Regions from separate parts of the Homo sapiens genome. Here all the other regions are linked to region 2. The links are contacts of gene promoters, found by promoter capture Hi-C in human tissues and cell types (Jung and others, 2019). All regions are on one chromosome and are shown on one strand. The core of a region is centred on a gene start or on the middle of the fragment in contact, and the rest is flanking DNA. Distances in the headings are between cores, read along the strand shown.

Region 1 (2,700 bases), core at 186-2,685, 260 kb after region 2:
AGGAGAATCACTTGAACCCGGGAAGCGGAAGTTGGAGTGAGCCAAGATCACGCCACTGCACTCCAGCCTGGGCAAGAGAGCAAGACTCCGTCTCAGAACAAACAAACACTATTTTCAAAAGAGAAAAAGAAAGGATAAGGATACATTTCTGAATCCTAAGGTCTCACCACGGGAAGCCTGTATCTTTACAATTCAACAATCAGCATGGCCCCCAGAGATGACGGGGTTCATCCATTCAGATGAGAAAATGAAGAAAGTGGCAGGATTTTGTAGGAATAGGAAGCTCCTTCGGGCTCATGCCCAGCCACAGGCTGCCACAGCACGGAAAGGAAAAGTGAAACCAGCTCCATCAAGTCATTTTTCACTCTAGGATTGTCAAAAGCTTTACATTCATCTCTTGGGATCCGAGGAGAGATATCTGCCGAGAGAGAATTTGGATCGGAGCCAGCAAAGCAAACTCCAGAAGCCTTGGCTGCTGCGAAAGGGGATTCAACACCTTTCCGGGTCGTTCTCACTTCATTTCCAGCCGGTCCCCCTTTGGTGCTGTTTCCCAAGTAATCAGACCTCAGGGGTTGCCTCCTGGTGGGGAAAGGGAAGCTTGCCTTGCTGGAGAAGGGGCTCAAGGCACAGGACTTGCCTCGGACTTGCCAAGGAGGCTTGCAGGAGGCTCTTTGTCTACTCCTCTGTCCTCATCCAAGTAAGAGGAGCGGGGAATTCCGAGGCTGTAACTGCCTGGGAAACGCCAGCCACGGAGCTGCTGAGGATCAGACTCCTGGGTTTCAGCATGGAGGCCAGGGAAGGGTCTGATAATGGGTATGGGTCCTGGCGAGAGGGGAGTGGAGAAAGGCCTTGGAGTGGGACGGGGCGCCAGCTCTGGGGGCAGTCTCGAGGCACCTAGAAAACCGGCGAGTGGGGAGAGGCTGCTAAAGAGGGGCTCCCTGCGAGAATGCGTTCACCAGCTGTGAGGACCTGGCTGGCGCACGAACTTCCAAAGACCTCACATCTGGTTGGTGTAGGGGCGACCAGTGGTAAGGGGGCTGCGGAAAGGGCCCGCAGGGGCTGTGCGTGATGCCTTCAGAGCTGTGTATGACACCGAGAGAGTCAGGGGCGGTGACCCGCGTCTGGAGGTGGAAGGGGAAGTGAGTGAGGGATGGATGTGAGGTTTAGGAATGTGTTGGAAAGAGAGATTCCCGCCAGGTAAAAGGTCTGATAAAATAGGTTTGGAAATCTAGGTGGTGAGGAAAGGATGCGGGAGCAGGTGGCTCTGCGTGCGCGCTGCGTGTTCAGCCGCCAGGCTCTTACCTGCATTACAGGTGGAGGTGAGGAAGCCACCGGCTTTCTGTCTTGAGCGCTCCCCTGGCTGTGGCTGCTGGGGCCCTAGGCCCGCGCCCCGCAGTCCTCCTCCGCCAAACCCCTAACCTGGCTCCGAGAACTGGAAGGTCGCGTGGGAGGAAATCTCTTTCGAGAAGCGCCAAGGCGTGTGCGCCCGGGTCCTCCGCAGGCGGGCAGGCGCGCGAGGCGCTCCGGTAATCGCTATCCTTCCGGGAAACGAAAACGAAAGAGCGGGATGCGGTTCCACTTGCGCCGCTGCGGGCTAGGAGCAGGGCAGGGCAGGGCAGGGGCCGGCCCCGTGGGAGCGCAGCACCGGGGCGCTGCCCGCTCGCTAGCCTGGGAGGCGTGGGTCCTGCACACAGCCTCCAGCCGGCGGACAGTCCCTCTGGCGACCTGGCCTTGGCTCCCACTGGGGCAGAGCCGGGATTCTGCAGGATCTGAGGATCTAAGGGGACCCCTAGTCCTGAACTCGGAACCAACTGCGTCTCTCACGGTCCCGAGCCCAGGACCAGGAAGGACCCTGTGAGTCTCCGCACATAGGATAGGAAGGGGCCTCGCATGGTGCCTCTCCCTTTAGGGGTGAGTGACCTTCCCGGCCCCGATACTGTCTCGGCCTGCCGTTTGGCCCCGCTGAGGCCCCACAGGTCCGGAACCGTCGCACCACCATCAGAGCGGCTGTGCTCTCCTGAGCAGGGCCAGACTACTCGGAGATCCCGACTGACACCTTTTCCTGGGCCTCTGGGTGCTCCGGGGTTGGTGCCTGCCCACCCATCACCCTTTCCATCTGTCTCAGCTCCCCCTGTCTCAAGAGAGGTTGTGCGCATAAAAACAAACCAGAAGACACCGAAGAAAAGGAAAGAAAAGCATTAACAACCTTCTGCTGAAAATCTGAGGGTGTAGACGCTGTTACAAAGTAGGCTTAGCACTGGTATATCATCACAAGCTCTAGGCCAGCAATAAGAAACCAGTAAGAACAAGGCCAGAAACCCAGTAGGAAAAAAAAATGAGCAAAGGATATGAATAAACAGTCCACATAAAAGGAAATGCCAAATGGCTCCTGAATATACAAAAAGATGCCCAGGGTGCAGTGGCTCATGCCTGTAATCCCAGCACTTTGGGATGCCAAGGTGGGAGGATCGCTTGAGCCCAGGAGTTGGACACCAGTCTGAACAACATGGTGAGATCCTGTCTTTACTGAAAATTTAAAAAATTAGCCGGGCATGGTGGGGCTACACCTGTAGCCCCAGCTATTCAGGAGGCTGAGGATGGAAGATCGCTTGAGCCTGAGAGTTGGAGGCTGCAGTGAGCCGTGACTGTGCCACTGCACTCCAGCCTGGGCAGCAGAGAAAGAAAAAGATGCTCAGACAA
Region 2 (2,700 bases), core at 120-2,619:
CTGAGGTGGGCGGACCACCTGAGGTCAGGAGTTGAAGACCAGCCTGGCCAACATGGTGAAACCCCGTCTCTACTAAAAATACAAAAATTAGCTAGGAGTGGTGGTGTGCACCTGTAGTCCCAGCTACTCAGGAGGCTGAGGCAAGAGAATTGCTTGAACCTGGGAGGCGGAGGTTGCAGTGAGCTGAGATGGCGCCACTGCACTCCAGCCTAGGCAATAGAGTGAGACTCCATGTCAAAAACAAACAAAAATCCTGCACATTTGAACCTGCGTGGATATTTGGTATTATAGAATTAGTGCTATTAATTTTAGGTTTAAGAATGTATTGTGGGCCAGGCGCGGTGGCTCACGCCTGTAATCCCAACACTTTCGGAGGCCGAGGCGGGTGGTTCACGAGGTCAGGAGTTCAAGACCAGCCTGGCCAAGATGGTGAAACCCCATCTCTATTAAAAATACAAAAATTAGCCGGGTTTGGTGGCAGGCACCTACAATCCTAGCTAATCGGGAGGCGGAGGCAGAGAATTGCTTGAACCCGGGAGGCGGAGGTTGCAGTGAGCCGAGATGGCAACTGCACTCCGACAGAGTCTCAAAAAATATATATATATAGTATTGTGGATACGTACTTTTAAAAATCCTTACGTTTTAGAGATACAAAAATATTTATGAATAAAATGATATGACGCCTGGGTTTTGCTTCAAAACGATGGTGGGAGAGGAATGTGGATGAAATAAAATTGATTATGAGTTGTGGTTGCTGGGGAATTGGGGTCACGGGGGTTCATTAGAACCTCCTATCAGATGTGGTTCAGAAGCCTCAGACCTGGGAGCTGGCTAGAAATGCAGAATCTCGGCTCCACCCCAAACCTACTGAGTCAGGATCTGTATTTTAATCAAATAAAATGCCCAGGGGATTCCTGAGCACACTGAAGTGTGAGAAGCGCTGGCTTACTCTGTTCAATTCTTTCCTGCATGTTTGACATTTTCCATAATGAAGAGGTTGTGGGGTTTTGTTCTGCTTTCCTGTGTGTTCACAGTCACAGGGAGCTCTTCCTACGGAGACCGGGGCTGGAGGGAACTGGGAAGCACTGCCTCCCCGCTCCTGCTTGGACCCACCAGCCCCGCCGCTGGCCCGCGCTCGGCTGGGAGGCACCGGGGTCCCGCTGGGCAGCCCCGACCCCGTGCCTGGGCCGCACCTGCCGCAGTGGCTCCGTCGGGCCGGGCGGAAGCGCGGGAGCGCAGGGCTGGACAGGCCCGGGCGTGGCGGCCCCGGCGCACCTGGGCGAGCCGGCAGGTGGGAGCGTAGCAGCCCGGGGCCCCCGCCCTCGCGCGGGGGAGGAGCGGGCGGCGCGGGGCGGGCGCAGCGGGGGTCGGGGCGCTGGGAGCCCGTTGGGCCGCGAACGCAGCCGCCACGCTGGGGCCGCCGAGATCGGGTGCCCGGGATGAGCCTCATCCGGAAAAAGGGCTTCTACAAGCAGGACGTCAACAAGACAGCCTGGGAGCTGCCCAAGACCTACGTGTCCCCGACGCACGTCGGCAGCGGGGCCTATGGCTCCGTGTGGTGAGACCCCTGGGCCGCTGGGGGGCGGGGGGCGGGCGCCAGGCTCTCCCCTTTCCGCCCAGCCCGCCCTGGGCTGGCCCCTCGCCAGCGCCACCTTGACCGCGGACCTCAAGGCCCAGCGCCCTCCCCGGGGCCACCCAGCGGCCATCTCCCTTTTCTCACCGAGTGGCTGAGTGAGGTCTCTGGGGGTTGAGTTGGGACTGGGCCTGGTTCTCCAGGACTGTACACTTGCAAGACCCCAGAGTTCATCGGGCAGATCCTCACTGTTACAGACGAGTACACCGAGGCCCCAAGAGGGGGAGGTGGCTCGCCAAGTTGCAGACAGAGTGAGACTCCCGCCCTGCCGTGGATCCCGTCGCAATGAGACGTTGCTGCCCCTGGCGCTGTGCCCCTCTCTCAGCTCCTGCCTGGCTTCCTACTCCCTGCCCTGCGTCCCGCGGCTCCCCCATATTCTAGGTGGTGGGCCTAGTCCCCTCTCAGCCCAGCTGCCCAGTGGGAGGGGTCAGGGCGGTCTGGGAGATACGGCCCAGGAGGAGAGCCTCGCCTGCTGACCGGCCTGTGCCCGACAGCTCGGCCATCGACAAGCGGTCAGGGGAGAAGGTGGCCATCAAGAAGCTGAGCCGACCCTTTCAGTCCGAGATCTTCGCCAAGCGCGCCTACCGGGAGCTGCTGCTGCTGAAGCACATGCAGCATGAGAACGTAGGTGGTGGCTGCCCCGGGGAGGGGGTGGGGGCTGCCCTGGGGAGTCAGGGGCAGGCGCAGGCGGGGCCTCCCGGTATGGAGAGCTCGGGACAGTCTCCTCCCTGCTCCCCTGACGGTGCCTCTCGCCTCACTATTGAAAGGAGGGGGTGCCGAGACCTTCCCTGCCCACTTTCCAGGAAGAGGTCAAAGGGTATTTTTGGCAGAATGCACTTTGTGAGGTACAGACTGTGTTATCCTACAGAGGAAATTGGCACAGGGGAACTTTGTAATTGGTTCCATGTCTGAGAGCTTGTGGCCAGCTGGGACTAGAATCCTAGTTAGCGTTGTGTCCACGTGACCCTGATAACAATAGCAATATACACATATTGAGCACTTCCTATGTTCTAAGAGCTCTGCATACACTAACTTGTCTAGTCCTCATGATATATGAGTACTACTGC
Region 3 (2,889 bases), core at 390-2,889, 310 kb after region 2:
GTTTTTTATTTTTCTTTGACTCAAAGGCTGTAACACTGTACTTTATAAAAATGGAAATAAAGGCATTAGTTTGAACAATCCTCTATGCTGCTACTGTTGTAAAGTTTGGAGCCTATAACTCACTCAAATTGGTTTATAGCCATGTGTTTACTAAATCTTTTTTCATATTCCTTTTCTCCAGGCATACAGGAATTTATATCTCACAGCCTTCTTAGAGTCAGTCAGGTTGAGCCTGGTGACTAGTTCAGGACAGTGAAACGTCAGCAGAAGTGAAAAGGCCACTCACTTCTGGCAGAGGCAAAGGAGAGCCCTTACAGGATTCTCCAATCTAGCTCTTCTGCCAGCCCGGAAGTGCTGGGAGGGCAGAGCCACTGACGCAAGCAGCAGGGAAGCTGAGTCACCATGGGGACGTGAGACTGACTTACAGATGACGAGTGCAGCCTCACAGCCTAGTCCATGTTGAGATAAACACAATACAGTCCTGCATACTTTATAGTCATAAACGAGGGAGAATAGAAATGGAAAATGACCCTCTAGGCCTCTAAGACCAAATTATAATGAAAAAATTTATGTCTTCAGTTTTGAAAATTAAATTTTTTGACCCTGATAAAACAAATTTGCTATACAAGTATCCGTTAACCGTGTGAAACCTACTGAGTCAAACTATTTTCTTACATTCCTTCCACTTCAACACCAATTCTAATCCAATTCCAAATTAGTTTTCAGAGAGTCTCTTGTAAGGAAAAGGAGAATCGACTTCGAATTTTAAAATTTGTGCTATTATTAGTTTATAGAGCTTTCAACAATTTACAAATAGTTTGCATAATCAGTATATTTAATTAGTATATATAGACATATATATATATATTTGAGAGGGAACTTCACTGCAACCTCCCAGTTGCCTCCTGGGTTCAAGTGATTCTCCTGCCTCAGCCTCCCAAACAGCTAGGGTTATAGGCGCCCACCACCACGCCCGGCTAATTTTTGTATTTTTAGCAGAGACAGGGTTTCATCATGTTGGCCAGGCTGGTCTGGAATGCCCAACCTCAGGTGATCTGCCCGCCTCGGCCTCCCAAAGTGCAAGGATTACAGGCGTGAGCCACCAAGCCCGGCCTAGTGTAATTTTTAAAAGTACAAAAGCCACTAGAAACCGTGACAATAAGAACTTCCTTTTGGGTTTTCCAGCATTTGGTTCATAGGACATGGACCATATATAGATGTTTTTTGAATGCTGAAATCTTTTACTCATAACACAGTTTTCCCAGTAACTTGCTTCCGGTTGATTTAAAATTTGTAATACACCTTTGTAATAGCAGGTACCTTCATGAAACTCAGTATTTGAGAAAAATGTGGAGTTTTTCCCCCTTTCTTTTGGCCAGAATGTATATCCAGGGTAGTGACTTTCGAGCAAATGCGTTTAAGCAACTCCAGTATTCTTACTACGCTACCTCCAACCTCGCTCCACGCATGGGGAGATCAGGGTTCCACATTTTCGGGTAAGCATTAGCCGTCCTGGCGCTGCACGAGCGTATTCTACAATTCCGAAAACTACTAACTTTTCCGTCTGCAACCTTTAATAATTGAGAGGGTATGCGCAACTCAGAAAAGTGCGCCCGCTGAGGTTGGGTGCAGAGTGGACTGGAGGAAAGGCGACACCCATTTACGGTGCGGCCCCGGACGGGGTCCCCAGACACGGCCTTCCCGGCGTGCCACGCGCGGAGGGGACTCTTAACGTGAAGCGCTGGGTGACTCAGCCGCGTGGCCGCGCGGTCCGGGGCGGGGGGCGCGCGCCGCTGCGGCACAGCCGGTCCCGGCTGCGGCTTCTGGCTGCGCGGCCTGCGCGCGCCTCCCGGGCGGATTCCAGCCCCGAGCGGGACAGCGCGGCGGGGAGCGACGAGTAAGTGGCGGCGCGGTACGGTTTCGGGCGCGAAGACCGGGCAGGGAGAGTGTGGCGGCGGGCGTGGCCCGAGTCTTCCCTTTGTGGCCGAGGGGGCGTCTCCTCCGGACGCGGCGGCGGTTCGGACCCCCGAGTCGAAAGGCCGCGGGGCTGAGCTGGGCGCGAGGAACCTGTGGGCAGCGGCTTGATGGGCTCCTGTTTCCGCGCGGAGGGCAGAGTCTGGTGATCCTGGGGAGGGAGGCGACGCTGCGCCCAGGTGGTGGGCACAGCTGAAGTGTAACTTGACTGCTTGACTGCTTTTTGCAGGCCTCGGGTGGTTCATCCCGCCGGAGAGGAATGGCGAGAACCTGGAGTGTTGACTGGCAAAACATTTGCAGACGCGGTTTTTCTGGCAATTAATTGGCTCCATTAAAAATTAGGTAGTTGGTGGGGACTTCCTCCTGAACTCTGGAGCCGAGCGCATTTTGCTCGGTCTTTTCAGCCCTGTTTCCGCGTCTTCCTTCCCTGCCACCCGCAAATTGCCAGCTTTCATCCGTGGCTCTGAGTGCAAAAGAGCTGGGGAAAGCCTTAACCAGCAATTTTCTTTTAAATAAAACTTTGCTTTTTATAGCAGTGTCTTCAGGTTTAGAAGCCCAGTTCTGCACTATGAGAAAACTCTTCTATTTTGGAGTTTGTGATTCTTTCTGAAAATTCCTCAGTTGAAGAGATTTATTTTTAAATAAGAATCTAGTGAACAAACTAACATGATAAACAAGGCTGTGAAGGAACTGTTTAACCAGCTTATGAAAATATGTCCCAGAGTCCTTAGTTTTGTTCCTGTTCGCTGTGCGAGAAGTTGAGGTAGTTTTTTAATGGTCTTCAAAACAAAGTGTTGTAGTAGTGTCTGTCGGATGTGATGAATCCAGAGTCAGAGGACTTCCGCTCAAGGCCCCCACCTGAAACCCCAATTCCTAGGCCATAGTTCTGAAACAGAAGATTGTTCCTTAGTAATA

The links. The method cuts DNA at HindIII sites, captures the fragments that hold promoters and counts their contacts. A contact is called where the count stands out against the background at its distance.
Region 1: a contact is called between the fragment with the promoter of ETV7 here and the fragment with the promoter of MAPK13 in region 2, in 2 of the 25 tissues and cell types used here (heart left ventricle and ovary).
Region 3: the fragment with the promoter of PXT1 here is called in contact with the fragment with the promoter of MAPK13 in region 2 in 1 of the 25 tissues and cell types used here (thymus).

What each region holds. Positions count from the first base shown.
Region 1 is chr6:36,386,234-36,388,933 of GRCh38, forward strand. ETV7 (ETS variant transcription factor 7) reads right to left here and starts at 1,436. Exons shown (of 8, transcript NM_016135.4): 1 at 1,303-1,436. The coding sequence starts at 1,308. ETV7-AS1 (ETV7 and PTX1 antisense RNA 1) reads left to right here and starts at 387. Exons shown (of 2, transcript XR_926758.3): 1 at 387-697. RefSeq lists an enhancer at 507-1,330 and a silencer at 1,457-1,666. The HindIII fragment of the contact is 5,079 bases long and covers 18-2,700 here.
Region 2 is chr6:36,129,144-36,131,843 of GRCh38, forward strand. It overlaps MAPK13 (mitogen-activated protein kinase 13), which reads left to right and starts at 1,370. Exons shown (of 12, transcript NM_002754.5): 1 at 1,370-1,558; 2 at 2,128-2,257. The coding sequence starts at 1,440. RefSeq lists silencers at 1,266-1,515, 1,556-1,625, 2,266-2,375 and enhancers at 1,521-2,124, 2,016-2,135. The HindIII fragment of the contact is 28,110 bases long and covers 1-2,700 here.
Region 3 is chr6:36,441,215-36,444,103 of GRCh38, forward strand. PXT1 (peroxisomal testis enriched protein 1) reads right to left here and starts at 1,640. Exons shown (of 5, transcript NM_152990.4): 1 at 1,321-1,640. It overlaps KCTD20 (potassium channel tetramerization domain containing 20), which reads left to right and starts at 1,786. Exons shown (of 8, transcript NM_173562.5): 1 at 1,786-1,897. RefSeq lists enhancers at 107-654, 2,139-2,238, 2,844-2,889 and silencers at 461-530, 1,689-1,978. The HindIII fragment of the contact is 9,351 bases long and covers 1-2,889 here.